2 separate regions of the Homo sapiens genome follow, and region 2 is linked to region 1. Evidence: promoter capture Hi-C in human tissues and cell types (Jung and others, 2019). All regions are on one chromosome and are shown on one strand. Each heading gives the region's core, a stretch centred on a gene start or on the middle of the fragment in contact. The rest is flanking DNA. Distances are from core to core; before and after follow the strand shown.

Region 1 (3,705 bases), core at 756-3,255:
AGATGAGCAGGGTGGAGGTTCACATCCAAGAGGTTTGGCTCCAAAGTTTTGCTCATAACCCCTTTGTTGCCTTCTGTTACATGGCGGAAGGTCCAGCCACTAAGATAGAAGCCAGAGGTTTAACTGGGGAAATGGGAATAATGGCAGATGTTCATCTATAAGGCTACACTGCCACTCCATGCCACAGACTCCAAGAACAGAATTACAGCCAGGCTTCAGATTGGAACTGGGCTTGGAAATGCATGCCTCTCAACGTGAATGTGGCCCCAAAACTCATGGGGGTCATACACAGCTTCCCAATGATGGCAGGGCTGTACCTATCATTCAGTAGGCTTTTATGCTTTGATAGCTGATTGTTATAACTTAGTGCTCTAATCCCAAATAGGTCGTGCATAAATCTAGAATACCAAAAGCAAGGCCTAATTCGGGTCTTGTACGGGCAAAAGTGGAGTAAATGTACCTAGGCCTTTGACTACATCTCCATACACTGCAATGGCAAATGTCATCATCTAGATTGGCTGGAGTTCATCCTTCACTTCTTCCTCCACGCTATCCAGCTTCTTCAGATATGTTCTTGTCTAGTCTCGTTTCCCATTTTCCACACCCACTTGGTGTTCCAGGTCAGGCTCGTATTCTTAGTGTTCTAACACTCCACCCTTGGGTCTTTGCAAAAGTACTTCCCGCACTAAGATCTCTTCCCTCCTCTGCAAAATCAACTTGTCCTTTGGAGTATAATTTCTTCTCGAAACTTTCCAGCAAGGGATCCACAGTAATTTCTCTTTTTCCTGTAGCACTTGCTTTTGTATCACTCATATTTGATCCATATTTTCCTAGCTCACCAAATAGTCTTTTTCAACTAGACCAGAGTTCCTTGAAAGCAAAGGGTTTCCATAGCTTTTTCTATCTCTATGGCCGGACAACGTAGTAGGAACTTATTAATTCACTTAACACTACTGGAGAAGCCAATCAATCAACAAGCGCATAAGGTTAGTTAGTGGTGAGTGCTATTAAGAAAAATTGCGGATAAAGCGATAGAAAGTGAGGTTGGTAGGTGTTAATTAAGATAGGAAGGTCAGGAAAATCTTTCTGTCGGGGGCGATTGTAAGCTGACAGGCAGTCCGTAAGCGCTGTCCCTGCTGCGTTCAAATGAATTAAATCTTTGCCTTATGGGTGATGCAGGTAAAAGAGCTCCGACTCAGCATCAAAACACAGAGTTCTTCTGGTCTGGCTCTGACGAGGAGCCTTAGTTTCCTCAGCGTCTTAACTGTCTTAAGGATTGTCTTTGTGGGCCTTACAAGATTGCGGGGAGGATCAAACATTCTAATAAATGAAGGAGGGCCACGAGAACGGAACCTTCCGCTTGAGTCACCATTTAAACAAGTGTTTGTGGAATGAGAATTATCTTGCCCGCTTCAGGTGCTCAGGATGCAGACAGACGTGAAACTGGCGGGTCCTTTAGGAGACTGTCCCGACTGCGTGTCCTGAGGTGACTCGCCCCAGGGCGCACGGCAGCCGGCAGCCAAGCTCAAGCTTTCAGGCTCTCATTTCAAAGTGTCCCGAGGTGATTCGCCCCAGGGCGCACGGCACCCGGCAGCCAAGCCCAAGCTTTCAGGTTCTCATTTCCATCACGCCCCGGCCGGCCGCCGCGGACAGCTCCGCGGAGCCGACTCGGAGGCTGCTACTTGCAAATTCCCGGGCTGCCCGCCCGCCCGCACTCACCAATGGGCTTGTCCAACCGCATGAGGCGCAAGTACGGCTGCAGGGGGCGGGGCGCAGAGTCCACCACCGCCGCCGCGGACAAACTGAGCTGGCGCCCGCGCGGCTCGGGACAGGCGGGGGGCTGCAAGTCACCACCGTGGGGCGCGCCTGCCGCACGCGCCAGGGCGAAGGAGCGGCCCCGCCAGCCCGGCAGCCACGCCAGTGCCACAGCCCGCAGGCCCCGCGCGAACCCCGCGGCTCGCGAGCCCAGCATGGCGCTGGTGAGGCCGGGACGAGCTCGGATTGACGTCATTCCCCGGCAGGCATGCGCAGTGGCACCCGCAGGATGCAATCCTAGTCTGCCAGGCTGGGCGGCGGTGTGGGCAGAACCTTTCCTCATCCTTACTTGTGAAATTGGGGTCATCGTGGTCGCTTACTCTAGGGAGGAATACTTAATGAAAAAGGGATTTCTATTGGCAAAAGGCAAAAAAATTACAATAAATTTAGTTGTAATTTTTTACAACTCGATCTTGATTGACTTTGTGGTTCCATTATCGGGCAACACTCAGAACGGGGTCTCTGAGGAAACAAACAAAAAATAGAATCGGGCAACACCTTATTCTGTAAAATAGAATAAGTGTTCCAAAGAGTCGAGCGGAGGAAGTTGGCTTTATAGACAGAAAAAGGGCTGAAGAAAGCAGAAGCAGAGAACAAAAAGCGGATTGGTCACTTCAAATTACTTTCATTGCGAGGCGGGGACAGGGAAACAACAACAGAGAAATAACGGATTGGTTAACATTAGGTTACACCAGGTTAAGGACTAAAACAGGAAACTTAATTGTCATGACGATTGCATTTTGAAATGGCCTGGTTGGAAAATTGGCTGTTGTCTCTCTTTCCTGACTTCTCAGAATGTCAGATACAACTTAGTTTTAGTTTGGTGACTTGGAACTTTAGCATGGGTGACTCTTGATTCTTAGTCTGATCTGTTGGGACCTAGTGCAGGAACTTAGTTCAAAACAATGGCCCCCTATAATTTAACCCTATTATCAGCTTTCTCCATAAAATGAAAAGGATAGTGTTTATTCATATGGAACAGTTGTACCAGGAAAAAAAAAAAAAAGCTTTGAAAAACCTACTGAATCCAAAAGAAGAATTTGCGTACACGTTTAGCCATAAAAAAAAAAAAGGGCACCAAGTGGCCACATACAAGACTGTAAATTAAAATCGCATTCAGGGTTAAGGGATGTTCATTACACAAGTGAAAATTTTAAATTTGACAGCCCTTCAAAGGAGTTTTTGTAATCAGTAGACAACCAGCATGTGTGATGCTAAGAACCTGAAGCTGAAAAGTCTGGTCAGCAGAGTCTTGCTCTGTCATCCAGGCTGGAGACCAGTGGAGGGATCATGGCTCACTGCAGCCTCCACCTCTTGGGCTCAATCGATCCTCCCATCTCAGCATTCTAAATATCTGGGACCACAGACACGAGCCACCGTGGCTGGCTAATTTTTAATTTTTCATAGAGAGGAGGTCTCACTATATTGCCCAGGTTGGTCTTGAACAGCTGGGCTAAAGAGATCCTCCTGCCTCAGATGGTCAGTACTCTTATTCATAAGCAACTCTGTATATCGCTGTGTGCCAGGCACTTTACATGTATCAACTCATTTAACCTCTCACTGAGTAACCCTAGGCAAGTCACTCATCTGGATTTTAATATTCTAGGAAGTTGACTTAGTCTTTAGGCTCCTTTCTGTAAAACATGTACAATGATTCTGTGACTTCTTGCATGGCTCAAGTACAGCAAGTTGGATGCCTGGCCACTTTGGTGCAATGAGGCAGGGGGTACCTAGCCTTTCTCCTGCCTGCAAAGAATAAAGGCCAGCAGGCAATTTAGTAACACTCCTAGTTGTTAGATTGGAGATGATTTAGATCTGACTCAAACCTGAAAAGGGTGTAATATCAGTCATGTATTGCATCCATGACTTTCCAATATAGGTCCAAACTCT
Region 2 (3,779 bases), core at 6-2,505, 310 kb before region 1:
GATGAACAAAATAATGTATTTACCGAAGATCATAGAGAAAATCAACAGAAGACCCATGACTGAAAACCCAAGTTTCCCAATAGCTCCTACTGTATCACTATAGTGCCTCCATGATATACATATTCATGCAACAATATGCATTCACAGAACTACATCAAAGTGCCAAAAATAGGAGCAGGGCACAGTGGCTCATGCCTGTAATCCCAGCACTTTGGGAGGACAAGGAGGGTGGATCACGAGGTCAGGAGATTGGGACCATCCTGGCTAACACGGTGAAACCCCATCTCTACTAAAAATACAAAAAATTAGCTGGGTGTGGTGGCAGGCACCTGTAGTCCCAGCTACTTGGGAGGCTGAGGCAAGAGAATGGCGTGAACCCAGGAGGCGGAGCTTGCAGTGAGCCGAGATCGCACCACTGCACTCCAGCCTGGGTGACAGAGCAAAACTCCCTCTCAAAAAAACAAACAAACCAAAAAAAAAAGGTGCCAAAAATTGTGCTAGGTTCTGGGAAGGTGGGGACAGAGGAGAAAGAGAAAGAGTGAGAGAAACAAGATAAAAGAACCATCAATACAGTACATACATAAATACATTGGAACATAATTCTGCCTTAAAAAGAAAATTCTGATATATACTACAACACAAATGCACCTTAAGGACATTATGCTAAGTGAAATAAGCCAATCAAAAAAAAAGGGCAATGGCTGGGCGTGGTGGCTCACACCTGTAATCCCAGCACTTTGGGAGGCCGAGGTGGGCAGATCACCTGAGGTCAGGAGTCCGAGACCAGCCTGGCCAACGTGGTGAAACACCATCTCTACTAAAAATACAAAAATTAGCCGGGCGTGATGGCACACACCTGTAATCCCAGCTACTTGGGAGGCTGAAGCAAGAGAATCACTTGAACCCAGAAGGCAGAGGTTGCAGTGAGCCACGATCGCACCACTGCATTCCAACCTGGGCGACAGACTGAGACTCCATCTTAAATCCCAGCTACTTGGGAGGTTGAGGCAGGAGGATCACTTGAACCCGGGAGGCACAGGTTGCAGTGAGCCAAGATCACACCACTGCACTCCAGCCTGAGTGACAGAGTGACAGACTGTCTCAAAAAAAAAAAAAAGCAAAAACGTAGATACAAAAGTGGGATGGTGGCTGCCGGAAGCTGGATTGGGGAAGGAAGAATAAGGAGTTTTTGTTTAATGGGCACAAGATTTCAGTTTTGCAAAAAGAAAAAGTTTTAGAGACGGGATGGTGGTGATGGTTGTATAACAATGTGAATGTACTTAATGCCAATGAACTATACACTTAAAACAGTTAACATGAGGCTGGGTGCAGTGGCTCACATCTGTAATCCCAGCACTTTGGAAGGCTGAGGCAGGTGGATCACTTGAGGTCATAAGTTCAAGACCAGCCTGGCCAAAATGGTGAAACCCCTTCTCTACTAAAAATACAAAAATTAGCCGGATGTGGTGGAGTGTGCCTGTAGTCTCAGCTCCTTGGGAAGCTGAGGCAGGAGAATCACTTAGTGAGTTGAGATCACGCCACTGCACTCCAGCCTGGGTGACAGAGTGAAACTGCATCTCAAAAAAAAAAAAAGTTAAGATGGTAAATTTTGTGTTATGTATATCTTACCACAATTTTTTAAAAATAAGTTTTTTAAAAGAACTACATGATGAGGCCAGGCGCGGTGGCTCATGCCTGTAATCCTAGCACTTTGGGAGGCTGAGGTGGGCGGATTAGCTGAGGTTAGGAGTTCGAGACCAGCCTGGCCAACATGGTGAAACCCCGTCTCCACTAAAAATACAAAAAATTAGCCGGGCATAGTGGCAGGCACCTGTAATCCCAGCTATTCAGGAGGCTGAGACAGGAGAATCACTTGAACCCAGGAGGCGGATGTTGCAGTGAGCCGAGATCGCGCCATTGCACTCCAGCCTGGGCAAAAAGAGCGAAAACTCCATCTAAAAAAAAAAAGAGAGCTAGATGAACAAAAAAACAAAAAAAACTACCATCATGAAAAATCATAAGGGGTATGGGGAGACAGACAAGAAAACCAAGATTTATAATACAGTATGACTAATGGATAACTCAAAGCCAGTGTGAAATTTAACAGAAGTTTAAGATAAGTACTTGGTAAGTATAACCAAGTTTTATGGAAATAAATAGGAAATGATCAGAGAAAGAGTATCTGATTAAACCTAGAAGTCAAAAACTTCCAAGATGGGTAATCTAAGAGATAAAATGGATGAGTCAGCCGCAAGGAACGGCAAAGAAAGGCATTCCATGTAAAAGGAACCTTGCCAAGACCCTTAGTCCTACAACTTAGTTTAGATCCATATGGTGATCTCTTACAATAAGTTAAATCAGTAGGTTTGGAGCTACTATTTTGAAGGTGAAAATCAAAAGGCATGCATTAGATCCTAAATGCCTTTAATGCTAAGAAAGCACTGGCATTTGAACTTAATCCTGATGGGTCCAGGTGAAGAAATGAACAAGGCCAAGAAAATTTTAAGCAAGGGTATGACAAGTTCAGATTTGCATTTTAGAAAAATCGCTTATACACAAATATAAAATCATCTTGACTGAAACATAGAAAAAGATAGTCATCTTCAATGAGAAGCCCAAAAATCATCAAAAAAAAAAAAAAAATCTCAAGGTACTTTGAAAGAGCATTAGCTAGCAGGGCGCAGTGGCTCATGCCTGTAGTCCCAGCACTTTGGGAGGCCAAGACAGGTGGATCACAAGGTCAGGAGTTCGAGACCAGCCTGGCCAACATGGTGAAACCCCGTCTCTACTAAAAATACAAAAATTAGCTGGTTGTGGTGGTGGGCGCCTGTAATCCCAGCTACTCGGGAGGCTGAGGCAGGAGAATCGCTTGAACCCAGGAGGCGGAGGTTGCAGTGAGCCAAGATAGCACCACTGCACTCCAGCCTCGGTGACAGGGCGAGACTCCGTCTTAAAAAAAAGACTAGCTGCATGGAAAAAGACTGCAGTCTTAGCTGCAATGTATACATAAAGATGATGGAATCTCCTTGTGATACAATTCAACAGAAAGGCACTTTGGTGGTTTAAAATTTAGCATATGTGAATTTTTAAAGGTTATAAAGAACTAGTTAAAAGTAGAAATTATCCCTCCAAACTGAACTTAATGCCAACAATGCTAGTAAAATTTAACAGAAGTATATCTCTATGTATTCTGGTAGGGCTATTAAGTCCATGCACAATTAAAAAATAAAGTTACAATCGGTCTGCAACACATAAACAACCCAAAGACCAAGCAATGACATTTATAAAAGTCTATGATAGTCACGGTGAACTCTTGACAATAACCAAAAATTCATTCAGACACTTCCGCGAACACCACAATTGTTTACCATACAACCCATACCTTCTCCTTCCCATTAACTAAAACTTTTCAGGGACTCTCTCAGAGTCTCTTCAGAGACTCAAAACAGTAAAGAACATCCCATTAAAACACTCCTGGTTAAGCCCCTCTACCTATACAAAAATCTCCAAGGGGACTGGTGTTTTCTTTTTCATAAATACTTCCAAGCCTTGTTTACTTATAGCCAACTGCAGCCCACTTCCTAAATCAGCTCCAAACCCAAACCCTTTCCAGTATTTTCTTTGGGGCCCCCCTGCCTCCCATGACATCTCTCAAGACATCAGCTTCCTATACTGTCACAAATCTCTACTGAGCACCAAGAGAAAGAGAATAGTCACTCACCTAACACTGCTTTCACATTAAATTTTTCCATCTCTTCTCATTAGCTAAAATGAGAAGC

The links. Contacts are between HindIII fragments. The study calls those that stand out against the background at their distance.
Region 2: a contact is called between a fragment that was not itself captured here and the fragment with the promoter of COQ2 in region 1, in 1 of the 25 tissues and cell types used here (lymphoblastoid cells).

Annotation. Positions count from the first base shown.
Region 1 is chr4:83,282,793-83,286,497 of GRCh38, forward strand. It overlaps COQ2 (coenzyme Q2, polyprenyltransferase), which reads right to left and starts at 2,006. Exons shown (of 7, transcript NM_001358921.2): 1 at 1,720-2,006. The coding sequence starts at 1,972. RefSeq lists enhancers at 1,409-1,648, 1,844-2,138 and a silencer at 1,709-2,038. The HindIII fragment of the contact is 4,297 bases long and covers 1-3,705 here.
Region 2 is chr4:82,973,756-82,977,534 of GRCh38, forward strand. The region is part of intron 3 of LIN54 (lin-54 DREAM MuvB core complex component); the gene reads right to left. Among named protein-coding and RNA genes, the nearest start is that of LIN54, 35 kb to the right of the region's middle. The HindIII fragment of the contact is 6,222 bases long and covers 1-3,779 here.